Linked DNA regions of Homo sapiens: all the other regions are linked to region 1. The links are contacts of gene promoters, found by promoter capture Hi-C in human tissues and cell types (Jung and others, 2019). All regions are on one chromosome and are shown on one strand. Each heading gives the region's core, a stretch centred on a gene start or on the middle of the fragment in contact. The rest is flanking DNA. Distances are from core to core; before and after follow the strand shown. Region 1 holds the start of FOXF2 (forkhead box F2). Region 2 has its middle 170 kb from the start of LINC01622. Region 3 has its middle 150 kb from the start of LINC01622. Region 4 overlaps LINC01622 (long intergenic non-protein coding RNA 1622). Region 5 overlaps LINC01622 (long intergenic non-protein coding RNA 1622).

Region 1 (2,523 bases), core at 10-2,509:
TGGTCCGCTGGTCTGCAGCACCTTCTTTCTGGGCCTCCCCCTTCAGCCCTTGGGAGGCCCCGCCAGCTCCGGCCTCCTGCTCTCCTCCTCCCTCTCCCAGCTCCTATCCCTGGTCGGACTACATTTCCCTGCACGTGTAATCCAATAACTAACTGTCGGGTCTCATTGGAAGTGATTGCTCCCGAGGGCACATCTCTCTCAGAGCCTGACTCTTACTTAGGGAGGAATTAGCCACAACTGGGGAGAAGTGTTCTCGGACAGGAGTTAGCTGAGACCTGGCACAGTTTTGGGTGGGCAATGTTAAGACGGAGGATGTAAACCTAGTGACAGCTGCACACCCCTTCAGGACTGACTATAAATATAGCCATCTCGCTTATCTCAGGGTCTTTCTTTTTCTTTCTCTTTCTTTCTTTTCTTCCTTCCTTCCTTTTTCTTTTGCACTTTTTTCTTACAGAACACTAACTGGGGTGCGGGGGTGGGGGGAAGAAGTGGAAGCAAATGCAACCCTAAGTCCCATGAGATCCAGGTTTCCAGAGTCTTTGAAACTTGGCCTAGGTTTCTCAGTGTAAATCCCTCTGCTCAAAGTTCCGAAAACGTCCACGATCGCCAGCGGCCCGCAACCCTGCGGCGGCCCCCAGTCGCCCTAACAATTGTCGGGGAGCCTGCAGGCCCTGCCAGAAAGAGAGAGGATTGGCACGTTACCTTTGGGCGTCTGGCACCCCGGCGTGTGGCTGAGGGCGGCAAAGTCTAAACGAAGTTGACAGATGGAGTCAGTATCGGCCCTGGGGAGGGCGGCCAGGGAGGCTCCGAGCAGCCGCACCCGCAGCAGCACCACTCGGCCCGGCGGGCCAGGAGGAGGAAGGGGGCGCGGAGGGGCGGGGCTGGGTCCTGGGATGGGACGCGGGGCTTGCTGCGGGGGGCAAACAGAAAGAATATTTCATGAAGTCAGAGGTGGTCGAGTTTTGCGAGGGGTGGGGGTCGTCCCCCTGGCAGAACCGGAGTGAGTCTGTGATCCCTCAATTGGAAAGAGGGTGAGTGAGGGAAAGGGGAGGAGGCCGCGAGAGGAATGAAGAGCGAGGAGACCCTGGAGAGCGGGGAGCGAGATAAGAGAGGGAGGCGGCCGCCAGGTCGGGAGGGGGAGGAGTGAGCGCGGCGGCGCGGAGCGAGGAGGGGGCAGGGCGGGGTGGGGGGGGAGGGAGGGAGGGAGGGAGCGAGGAGGGCGGCCGGGGAGGGCGAGGGAGGGAGGAAGTCCGAGAGACAGAGCGAGGAGCGCTCCTGAAGGGAGACGTCGGGCTCGTCCCCGGGGTCCAGGCCGCGGTCCCACTCGCGGGCGCAGTCGCCCGGCGCCGGCCGCTCGGCCCCGCGGCCTGGGAGGCCGTTGCGCAAGGCAGGGCCCGCGGCTCGGGGAGGGATGCGCCGGGCGTTGCCTCCCGCCCGCCGCCGCCGCCGCCGCCAGAAGCCCCAGAGGAGCTGAGGGAGGCGACGCCGAAGCGCTGGCCCGGAGTGGCCACGGCTGCAGCCCGGGCGGCGGGCTAGGGCGCTCGCAGGGCTTCTGGGCCGACCCCGCTCCGGCGCCTCCGCTTCCCGCCCGGGGCCCGCCCTCGCGGCCCGGCCTCGCTCCCGGGTCCCAGATGACCACCGAGGGCGGGCCGCCGCCGGCCCCGCTCCGCCGCGCGTGCAGCCCGGTCCCCGGCGCGCTCCAGGCCGCCCTGATGAGCCCGCCGCCCGCCGCCGCCGCCGCCGCCGCCGCCGCCCCGGAGACCACCTCCTCCTCCTCGTCGTCGTCCTCCGCCTCCTGCGCCTCGTCCTCGTCCTCCTCCAATTCGGCCAGCGCCCCCTCGGCTGCCTGCAAGAGCGCGGGCGGCGGCGGCGCGGGCGCCGGGAGCGGGGGCGCCAAGAAGGCGAGCTCGGGGCTGCGGCGGCCCGAGAAGCCGCCCTACTCGTACATCGCGCTCATCGTCATGGCCATCCAGAGCTCGCCCAGCAAGCGCCTGACGCTCAGCGAGATCTACCAGTTCCTGCAGGCGCGCTTCCCCTTCTTCCGCGGCGCCTACCAGGGCTGGAAGAACTCGGTGCGCCACAATCTCTCGCTCAACGAGTGCTTCATCAAGCTGCCTAAGGGCCTCGGGCGGCCCGGCAAGGGCCACTACTGGACCATCGACCCGGCCAGCGAGTTCATGTTCGAGGAGGGCTCGTTCCGCCGCCGGCCGCGCGGCTTCAGGCGGAAGTGCCAGGCGCTCAAGCCCATGTACCACCGCGTGGTGAGCGGCTTGGGCTTCGGGGCGTCGCTGCTGCCCCAGGGCTTCGACTTCCAGGCGCCCCCGTCGGCGCCGCTCGGCTGCCACAGCCAGGGCGGCTACGGCGGCCTCGACATGATGCCCGCGGGCTACGACGCCGGCGCGGGCGCCCCCAGCCACGCGCACCCTCACCACCACCACCACCACCACGTCCCGCACATGTCGCCCAACCCGGGTTCCACCTACATGGCCAGCTGCCCGGTGCCCGCGGGACCCGGGGGCGTCG
Region 2 (2,523 bases), core at 9-2,508, 450 kb before region 1:
AAAAAAAAAAAAAAAAAAAAAGCCTGCATCAACGTAGTAAATATTAGCTTTTGTCTGGCCTCAGTAGAAGGTGGTAGTTGTTATTGTATTACTCTGCTTTTCTGTATGTTTGAAATGTTTCTCAATTCAAGATAAGGAAAATATGTAACGCAGTAACTAAGTATTATTATTGTTATTAATTAAAGATGTGAAAGATTCTCAGAAGCAAAATCTTAGGGACTCTTATTTAATCACTGAAGACCCATTTCTCCGCAGTCTAAACAGTGCACTGGGCATTGGACTCACAAAATGAAGACGCCATTGCCCCTGTCCTTGACGCCTGAACAGGATAGAAAGGGGACCCACAGTTGGCAGCCATCATGGGCATGGCATATGGGTCCGATCCCAAAGAGCTTTGTACAGGAGTTGCAAGGAAGGTTTCACCAAGGAAAAGATCAAGAACCAAATGCTGTGGGACGCATAAGTGCCAGCCCAAGGGACCAGGCAGGCCTGGGGGAAGGATGGGGGAGCAGAGCCTCCTGCAGACAAGTGGATGTCTGAGCTATTCAATGGACGTTGCTGCAGCCCCGTCTGTGTGCTGGGGGCTTTGCTAGGAAGGTGGGGAACAGAACAGCTGGGGTCCCTAACTTCACAGGATTCATCGTCCACGTTAAAGGTTCAGCATGTGCAATGTTCTCCACAACTTGTAAGGCTGTCGCACAGGCAAAGTGTAGGAAATAGAGGCTCAACTCTGTCTCCTGTGCTTCTGCATTGGGGGATTGGTAGTGCAAGGTTTGGGGGATGCTGGTAAACACAGAACACCTGTGTGACTTGTCATCAAAGCCCTGCATGCAGCAGTAACACAAGAGAGAAGTTGTGAGGTGGGGAGAGCTGGTTTACTACCCTACAAGGTAGCTGTGTGCAAATTAGGAAAATGAGTCCTGTCTGTCCAGATTTAGAAAAGCATCCCTTTGCCAGGGCACACAGAGTACAGTGTAGAATGGATTTCAGCCTGCTGTCTTTGTTCAGTGTAAGAACTGTGCAACTGTACATGATTATCCTGAGCAGAAGCTCCTTGAACCCGGCTCAGGCTAAATGGATGAATGGCACATGCCTCTTTGTTGTGGGTGTGTGCGCAGTGGCTGCATGGAGGCTGGAGAGACTGCCCACAAGGCTCTGGATACTCTCCAGCCTTGTCCTCATGCGGTCCCCAGCCCTGCCCTTCAGGGGACACTGGCAGGGCTTCTGCTCCATCCTCCTGGAGAGGCAGGTCACCTGGTGTCTGTCAGTCCACTGCCAAAGCCCTGCAGGAATCTGCCAGAGCAAAGGGGAGAGTGTAAGTTTTATCTGGAGTCACAAAAAGATATGATGGTGAAGAGGAGTTTGACCTCTACAGGAAGCATGAGGAGAAAGCATGAAAGAGGCCTGAAAGGATGAGAACTTGGAGAGAGGTTTCCAGGGGAGCCAGAGAAAGGTTTCTGTAAGCAAGGATGCTGGCTGTGAGCAGAATTCCACCCCACAGATGCTGCGTGTGGCTGAAATTTGGAGGATGACCTGTGGAAGAGCTAAGCAGGAAGGAGGGAGGACAGGGTCGCTAGAATCAGGCGGCCAGACTGAGCTTTGGAGAGCGCGTGAGCAACGGGATGTGGGAGAGGCTGTGTCTAGGAGATTGGCTCGTGCATTCATCCACTCACAGTAATTGTTTACCCGCCGGGCACTGCTGGGCTGCAGACTCCACTCTCCAGGGACTTGTGTCCGAATCCAGAGACAAGAAAAGAGGCCATGAAACATGCCACAGTGATTGGCACACAGAACCCCATGAGCTGGGGCACAACTGGCTGGTAATCACTGTGCACATGACCCCAGGGTGGGAGGCTAAGGTACGTGTTGGGAGAGGAGGGCATGAGAAAGAGCGTTCCATCCTGGCCAGAGCCACACCTGCAATCTTCTCCAAATCTGCACCAGGGTTAGGGAGGAAACTCGTTCCCCAGGCTCTGATATCAGAGCTGGAGGCTGAGGCAATGGACACTGTGTACACACCCCAGCAGCCCCAGGGCAGCCCCTGGCTTCCCCACGCCTTCTGTGTGACCCCAGTCCGTGTGGTTCAGTTGTGTGGCCCCAGAGCTGTTCTATTTAACCTGAACCAGGGGACTGATACTTCCAGCCCAAATTCCAGGTCTTGGGAGTTCTCCTCGGAAGAGGAGATCTGTTTCCAATGTCTCTGATGGCCAGTCCAGAGTTGTGTTCGTCTGTCTACACCTTCCTGTCGGCCGTTCTCTCCTCTGCTGCCCCAAGGGCCCTTCTGCTACCCATGCACCCCATGCCGTCCAGTCTGCCACAGAGATTCACGCTCACAATTCGTAAATTGTCTCCTCGCTTCTCCAAAACTCCGATCCATTCTAGGCAGCCATGATGAATTCACATAGAGATAGGAATTGCCCAGTATTACATTAGATCCTTGTTAGCCAATTAAATATGTTTATAGTATTACCATGTTATGTGTTTTATTAATAGGCTTGATTTTTTTTTAGAGCAGGTTTGGGT
Region 3 (2,523 bases), core at 17-2,516, 430 kb before region 1:
TTCTGAAAATGTCAGCGTCAACAACATGCCCTAATGGAAAACCCCATAATATATGAATATAAAAAAGGAATGCATTTAATTATTGGAAATTGCAACATAGTTTATTATTATACATTTATCTCTTATTCTCATTTTTTAAAGGGCATGACTTCAGATCTATTAGTGAGATAAAAGCTTTCTCTCAGTAGTTTATTTCATTCTCAGTGGATAAAACCAACAGCCTCATGGTGCTCATGGTGCTGTAGAAAGGCAGCCCCCCAGCAGTGGGAAGGTCCGCTCCTTAAAGCCCTCCCTTCTTTAAGCCGCCTGGACAGCGTCTGCTTTAGTTCCTGCTTGGTGCATCCCTTTGGGCTATGTGGTGGGCTGTGGAATGGCCCCCGGGGTGCCCGCATCCTACTCCCTGGAATCTGTGGCTATGTCCCTTTACGAGGCAAAGGAGACTTTGCAGATGTGATTTAGTTAAATGTACTGAGGTGGGGGGTGATCTTGGATTATCTGGGTGGGGCCCATGTAATTACAGGGTCCTTGTGAGAGGAAGGCAGGAAGGCCAGAGAGAGAAGGAGACGTGACAGAGAAAGCCGACTGAAGCAGGTGACAGGACAGTGTGTCCAAGGAGTGTGGGCAGCCCTGGAGTCCGGGAAAGGCAGGGGCAATGATCCTCCAGAGGAGTGTCCAGCATGAGCCAGCTATGCCTACACCTGGGTCTTAAGCCAGTCAGACCCATTTTGGACATCCTGCCTCCAGGACTGTTGGGCAGTAGATCTATGATGCCTGAAGCCGCCTGGTCTGTAGTGATTTTCTGCAGAGGCAACAGGAAGCCAACACAGGGCCAGGGGGCTCTGGGGGGAGTGTGGCTCTGGGCTGAGCACTGGAGCTGGGCAAGGAAGAAACTCCTGGACATTAAGGAGCTGCCCCTGGGGTGCCTTGGAAGGCATACTCACCTGGGAAGGACTAGGGGTTTCCTTGTAAGGGCGCTTTTAGTAACCCAACTCACAGCTTCTGAAGCTCAGGCCTGAGGAGCCCTGTCTAGGTCTGCACCCACTGAACATATCTGGAGCTTGCCTTTTCTTAAGGTCCTCCTGAAAAGGCTTCCATTTATAATAGGCAAATAGGTTGGAATTTTAGAACTGGGTTTACCTGGTCTCCAGCTATGTTTGCTTGGTCTTTTCCAGGAATATGTTTTAGCCTTTAGCACAATTTTAAACAAGTAGATAGAAATGAAGAAGTCTGACTTTGTGAAGACTTTTCTACCTGCCCACGATTTTTACCTTTCTCAGGTTAATAGCTTTGTTTTTGTCTCTAGGCCAATAAAATTCATCTTTTTGAGGAAGAGGAGCACCTATTACTCCATCCGGCAGTCACTGTGTGAAGTTGACAGATAGTCGAGGTGTTTCTGTGTGTGCACTAAGGCTTCTCCACCAAAAAGTCCTCAGGGAGAAAACTTTCTGGATCATTTTATCAAAAAGATAATCAAGGCTGGGCACGGTGGCTCACGCCTGTAATCCTAGCACTGTGGGAGGCAGAGGTGGGCAGATCATGAGGTCAAGAGATCGAGACCATCCTGGCCAATATGGTGAAACCCTGTCTCTACTAAAAATACAAACATTAGCTGGACCTGGTGGTGCACGCCTGTAGTCCCAGCTACTCGGAAGACCGAGGCAGGAGAATCGCTTGAACCCGAGATGTGGAGGTTGCAGTGAGCCGAGATCACATCACTGCACTCCAGCCTGGTGACAGAGCGATACTCTGTCTAAAAAAAAAAGATAATCAAAATACAGCAAGGTTTAGCCCTCATGAGCAGGGTAAAATGGTGGCCAAGGCTGGTGTTTAGCTCATGCCCCTCTGTGCCATAGCCAGTGGTCTTTCTTGGTGGAAGAGTCAGTGTTGTGAAGAGGGACTGCCTCCAGCCTCAGCTGGGCTGTCTCTTCCCAGCACCACCATAGGGTCATGTTTCCATCTGTGGGCTTGTTACCATATTAAATAGACGTAGAGTGCTCAATGTGTGTGTGCAAATCCTGGCTGCACCATGAACCAGGCGTGAGACCTTAGATGGGTTGCCTAAACTTTCTAAGGAACTCAAGCAATAGGAACTCAAAAATGACAGGTATTGCTATCATTTTGGCAAGCTACAGATTCATTCAGACATTTAGAAAAAAATTAAGTTGAAGCCTTCAATTGCCAGAAAATAGCTCACAAAAAGATGCTTGTTAGTTATATGTCTGACATTGTAATAAACCTTTTCTAAGTTTTCCCAAGAACAGTTGGTTCTGTTGCTACACCCAGCTCACAGCTCTAAGAGGCTTAGAAGGGTCAGGTGATTTATCCAAAGTCACACACCTAGTTGGTGGCACAGCCAAGAATCGAATGCAGGCTGCAAGACTCTTGCACGAATGCTTTGCCTACTTCCCTATACCGCATAGAGCAGGAACAGCATCTCATTATAGTAGACACTGACTCAATTTGTTAGTTTTACAAATACGAAGCAGTTGGCACGAGAAGATCCCGTGTGTTGGTGACATGTAT
Region 4 (2,523 bases), core at 16-2,515, 410 kb before region 1:
AGGCATGAGCCACCATGCCCAGTTGAGGCTTGTTTTGTGGCCTATCATATGGTCTATCTTGGAGAATGTTCCAAGTGATGATAAAAAGAATGTATGTTCTGCAGTTGTTGGGTAGAATGTTCTGTAAATATTTGTTAAGTCCATTTGTTTTAGGGTGTAGTTTAAGTCCATTGTTTCTTTGTTGACTTTCTGTCTTGATGACCTGTCTAGAGCTGTCAGTGGAGTGTTGAAGTCCCCCACTATTATTGTGTTGCTATCTCATTTCTTAGGTCTAGTAGAGCTCCAGTGTTAGGTGCATATATATTTAAGATTGTGATATTTTCCTATTGGACTAATCTTTTTATCATTATATAATATCCCTCTTTATCTTTTTTTTTTTAACTGTTGTTGCCTTAAAGTGCTTTTTGTCTGATGTAAGAAGAGCTACTCCTGCTTGCTTTTGGTGTCCATTTGCATGGATTATCTTTTTGCACTCCTTTACCTTAAGTTTATGTGAGTCCCTATGTGTTAGGTGAGCCTCTTGAAGACAGTAGATACTTGGTTGGTGGATTGTTATCCATTCTGCCATTCTGTATCTTTTAAGTGGAGCTCTTAGACCATTTACATTCAATGCTAGTATTGAGATGTGAGGTACTGTTCCATTCATCATGCTAGTTGTTGCCTGAGTACCTTGCTTCTTTTTCATTGTGTTATTATATTATAGGTCCTGTGAGATTTATGTTTTAAGAAGGTTCTATTTTGGTGTATTTTGCAGTTTTGTTTCAAGATTTAGGATTCCTTTTAAGCATTTCTTGTAGTGCTGACTTGTTTGTGGTGAATTCTCTCAGCATTTGTTTGTCTGAAAACCTCTCCTTCATTTATGAAGCTTAGTTTTACTGGATACAAAATTCTTGGCTGATAATTATTTTGTTTAAGGAAGCTAAAGATAGGATCCCAATCCCTTCTGGCTTGCACAGTTTCTGCTGAGAAATCTGCTGTTAATCTGATAGGTTTTCCTTTATAGTTTACCTGATGCTTTTGCCTCACAGCTCTTAATATTCTTTCCTTTGTCTTGACTTTAGATAACCTGATTACTATGTGTCTAGGTGATGATCTTTTTGCGATGAATTTCCTGGGTGTTCTTTGAGCTGCTTGTATTTGTACGTCCAGAATTCTAGCAAGACCAGGGAAATTTTCCTTGATTATTACCTCAAGTAAGTTTTCCAAACTTTTAGATTTCTCTTCTTCCTCAGGAACACCAGTTAAATGTTTGTTCATTTCACATAATCCCAAATTTCTTAGAGGCTTTTTTCATTAAATTTTTTTTCTTTTTCTTTGTCAGATTGGGTTAGTTCAAAAGCCATGTCTGCAAGCTTTGAAGTTCTTTCTTCTACTCCTTTGATTCTATTGTTGAATCTTTTCAGTGTATTTTGCATTTCTCTAAGTGTGTCTTTCATGTCCAGAAGTTATGATTGTCTTTTCCTTATGATATCTATTTCTCTGGATACTTTTTCTTCCATATCTGGTATTGCTTTTTAATTTTCTTTAAGTTGCTTTTCACCTTTCCCTGGTGCTTCCTGGAGTAGCTTAATAATCAACCTTCTGAATTCTTTTCCTGGCAATTTGGAAATTTCTTCTTGGTTTGGGTTCATTGCTGGAGAGCTAATGTGATCTTCTGGGGGTGTTACAGAACCTTGTTTTGTCATATTATCATAATTAGTTTTCTGGTTCCGTTTCAATTGAGTAGACTTTCAGTGGAATGATCTGAAACTCAACGGCTGCTTTTCAGTTTATTTTGTCCCATGGGGTGATCCCTTGATGTGGTGCTCTCCCCCTTCCTCTAGGGACAGGGCTTCCTAAGAGCCAGACTGCAGCAACTGTTATTGTCCTCTGGATCTAGCCATCTAGTGGGGGCTACTGGGCTCCAGGCTGGTGCTGGGGAAGGTCTGCAAAGAGGTAAGGCCAGGAAGGGCTTCCCTTGGCTCAAGCTGGAGATCAGGAGTGCCTACTGCTGATCTTCCCACCGCTTCTTCTACTGCTATATTTTGCTGGGCTCCCTAAATCAATTTCAGCTCTAAGTAAGGTTAAATCTTTCCCCATGATCTGGAATTTCAGGTTCTCCATTGGGGAAGTAAGTTCAGAGGCCAACTTTTCCCCCTCTCACTCTTAGGGAACTCACAGTTTTTCGACTGTCTCACAGTGTTTGCAATGGCAAGCCACTTTTTTCAAAGGCTCTTTGAATTCTTTTGGTTTTCCTGGTATGTTCCTGTGGTGGTTCTTGGAGCAAAAGTTCACAATGTGAGTCTCCAAACACTGTTCTGTTCAACTAAGTGGGAGCTGCACATTAGTTCTGTCTCCTATCCACCATTTTTTCCTACAACCCTATTATGGTGCTTATCTTCAAAATTTCTTATGGGTATAAAAAGAAACAATGCATCTGATTTGCTTAGCACAGTTCCTGCTTTTATGGTAAGAGTAAAAGGAATCCTGACCAAGTTACACATCTAAATGGAATACAATTTTATAGGGGCCTTTTTGAAAACC
Region 5 (2,523 bases), core at 18-2,517, 390 kb before region 1:
TCATCTATATATGTATGTGTGTATGTATGTATGTATGTATATCTATCTATCTATCTGTCTGTCTGTCTGTCTGTCTGTCTGTCTGTCTATCTATCTATCTATCTGATCTATCCTCTAGCAAGCTGGCCATTCAGGATAGCAGTTAACTGGGCACAACACAGCTTCTATCTATAGTGGGGGATATTCTATTTCTTCAGCTGTTTGGAAGATAGATGGGCATTTGTTTCACTTTTATTTGAATGGAACATGGATATTCTATTTACCCTTCTGTGTGAAAAATATATTTCACAAATTTTCTCTGCAGGTAAGGGTTTTTTTCCATTTCCTTATACCACCATTTATTTTATACAAAGATGTTTTAATTAAATATTTACATATCCATAGACATAAAGAGACTGAACATTAAGAAAAAAAAAAAAGATTAGATTGATCTCCAAGCCAGGGGAGCCGTAAACATTTGTAAAGTAACTACGACTATTTTAGCTAAGTAATAATGAATAGTTTTATTTATAAGGCAAGCTTTCCTTTCTGAATTATAAATTGTTTTCACTCAATGTCTTTCAAATTCCTATTCTTAAATGGCTGTTGTAGGTGAGGTTGCCCAGGAAGCTGCTTTGCTATGGTGATGATGGTTCAGGAAATTTATTTGGGAATGCTCTCAGGACCAACACCTGTGGGGAGGGAAAGCGGCAGATGGGCAGAGGGACAGGCTGGGCTTCCACGTGGTCAAAAGAAAAGCCTCAGCCACCCCACAGGAAGATCTCTGGAGTGGGAGCAGCCCTTTAAGGTTGTGCGGAATCGGGGTGAGAGGGGCAGGGCCCTCTTATCACAAGTACATCACTCAACTGAGGCTGCTCCAGGGACCATGGTCAGGGTGGGTCCCTTCAGCAGAGGGCAATGTCTAGAGAGAGGGCAGGCAGGGGATGGTGCTGGCAGCACTCACAGCAGCGGGGCATGAAGCCCTCAGTCCTTCAGATCTCAGGGAGGCCGGGCTGCGTGTCCCAGGACCACACCCCCATGGTAAGAACACGTGTTAGGCACCATGGAGTGTCAAGATGCATAAGGTCTGGTCCTGCCCCCGAGAAGCTCATGCTCTAGTGCCGTGTGGCTGAGGGTGGGCAGAAACTATGAGAGGGGAGGGTCCAGATGGAAGCTCTGGAACTGCAGTGAAGGCTTGGGAGGAGCTGGGAGCCACCTCTCCCTGACCACAAGGAGAATGAAGGCAGGCTGCAGGGACACACCTCAGGGAGGGCATCTGCACGGTTACAGGATTTGCTCCCAAAACTCTGGCAGCCAGGGAGGAGGAGGAGGACGGGTGGTTTTCAGGTATAGGACTGGTGAGGGAAAAAGAGCTGAGGCCAGGAAGGAAGAGTCCCAGGACACACATGATCTCACTGCTGTGCTGTCTGCGACCCCCAGCCCCTGCCTCCTTCCCTCTCCATCCTCAACTGCTTCCTGCCAGCTTCTGGGTGTGGGAATCCAAGAACAGCGCAGAGGGCTGAGTGAGCAGCAGAGCTGGGCATACAGAGGCGTACAGGTGGGAAATTAAATGAGGCCGGCAATCCACCAGCTGACACTGGGTAGGCACATTGTGATAGATCACAGCTGACGGAATATGATTCAGGCATGAAGAATCACACATTATCAGGTAGCGTGACACATGCTATGATATGGTGGACCTGGAAGACATTACGGGAAAGAAACCAGCCACAAAAGACCACATGGTATGGCTGCATTGATATGAAATGTGCAGAAAAGGCAAATCCTTACAGACAGAAAGTAGGTTAGTGGTTGCCAGGCGCTGGGGCCTGGGGAAAGTGGGGAGGTACTGCTTATAGGGACGGGGTTTCTTTTAGGGGTGGTTTAAATGTTCTCAAATTGATTGTGGGGAAGGTTGCACAACTCTGGGAATGTACTAAAAACCACTGAAGTCTACACTTTAAATGGGTGAAGAGTGTGGTATGTGAATTATCTCTCAGTAGAGTTGTTACTAAAAAGAAAGTGAAGCCATGGGCATGAGGACAAGGCCCATAGTGGAGATGCAGACAGGTGGCTGAATAAACTTTTCCCATTTTTCTTTTTCTTTGATCTGGTTCTCCTGGCCTATTGATCTCTCCTTTACACAGGCAGTGCTGGGAGTCTGGTGGTGGGTGCGCATTCCTTTCTGTGCCTATTCATCATATATTCTCCATCAGACACCCCTCAATTACCTCAAAGAAACGTAGGCTCAAAACAAATCTAGGTACAGTAACAGAGGTATCAGAACATTCTTGAAAATGAAACTATAACTTTGAGACACTCCCTAGTCCCCCATTGTGAGCAGGTGCACCCAATCCATTTCATCTTGTGTGCTGTGCTTTGTCATACCGCCTGCTGGAATCTTGCACTCCCTCCCGACGCCGCTCACTCCTGGTCTGCGGCACTAACCCCCTCTGACACTCTGGGCCATTGCTGTCTGCCTCCCTCTGTCAGAATGCCAGGTGTGAGCTGAGAGCAGGTGGCACTGCCTGGCACAGGGCAGCG

Evidence for each region. The method cuts DNA at HindIII sites, captures the fragments that hold promoters and counts their contacts. A contact is called where the count stands out against the background at its distance.
Region 2: a contact is called between a fragment that was not itself captured here and the fragment with the promoter of FOXF2 in region 1, in 1 of the 25 tissues and cell types used here (mesenchymal stem cells).
Region 3: a contact is called between a fragment that was not itself captured here and the fragment with the promoter of FOXF2 in region 1, in 1 of the 25 tissues and cell types used here (hippocampus).
Region 4: a fragment that was not itself captured here is called in contact with the fragment with the promoter of FOXF2 in region 1 in 1 of the 25 tissues and cell types used here (lymphoblastoid cells).
Region 5: a contact is called between a fragment that was not itself captured here and the fragment with the promoter of FOXF2 in region 1, in 2 of the 25 tissues and cell types used here (lymphoblastoid cells and mesenchymal stem cells).

The regions. Positions count from the first base shown.
Region 1 is chr6:1,388,317-1,390,839 of GRCh38, forward strand. It overlaps FOXF2 (forkhead box F2), which reads left to right and starts at 1,260. Exons shown (of 2, transcript NM_001452.2): 1 at 1,260-2,523. The coding sequence starts at 1,632. FOXF2-DT (FOXF2 divergent transcript) reads right to left here and starts at 1,145. Exons shown (of 3, transcript NR_187218.1): 1 at 703-1,145. MIR6720 (microRNA 6720) reads right to left here and starts at 2,095; the gene lies at 1,998-2,095. RefSeq lists an enhancer at 2,442-2,523. The HindIII fragment of the contact is 13,823 bases long and covers 1-2,523 here.
Region 2 is chr6:933,716-936,238 of GRCh38, forward strand. No RefSeq gene overlaps it. Among named protein-coding and RNA genes, the nearest start is that of LINC01622, 170 kb to the right of the region's middle. The HindIII fragment of the contact is 9,703 bases long and covers 1-2,523 here.
Region 3 is chr6:954,964-957,486 of GRCh38, forward strand. No RefSeq gene overlaps it. Among named protein-coding and RNA genes, the nearest start is that of LINC01622, 150 kb to the right of the region's middle. The HindIII fragment of the contact is 4,750 bases long and covers 1-2,523 here.
Region 4 is chr6:977,237-979,759 of GRCh38, forward strand. All of the region lies in intron 2 of LINC01622 (long intergenic non-protein coding RNA 1622), which reads right to left. Among named protein-coding and RNA genes, the nearest start is that of LINC01622, 120 kb to the right of the region's middle. The HindIII fragment of the contact is 6,048 bases long and covers 1-2,523 here.
Region 5 is chr6:994,220-996,742 of GRCh38, forward strand. The region is part of intron 2 of LINC01622 (long intergenic non-protein coding RNA 1622); the gene reads right to left. Among named protein-coding and RNA genes, the nearest start is that of LINC01622, 110 kb to the right of the region's middle. RefSeq lists an enhancer at 980-1,499. The HindIII fragment of the contact is 4,216 bases long and covers 1-2,523 here.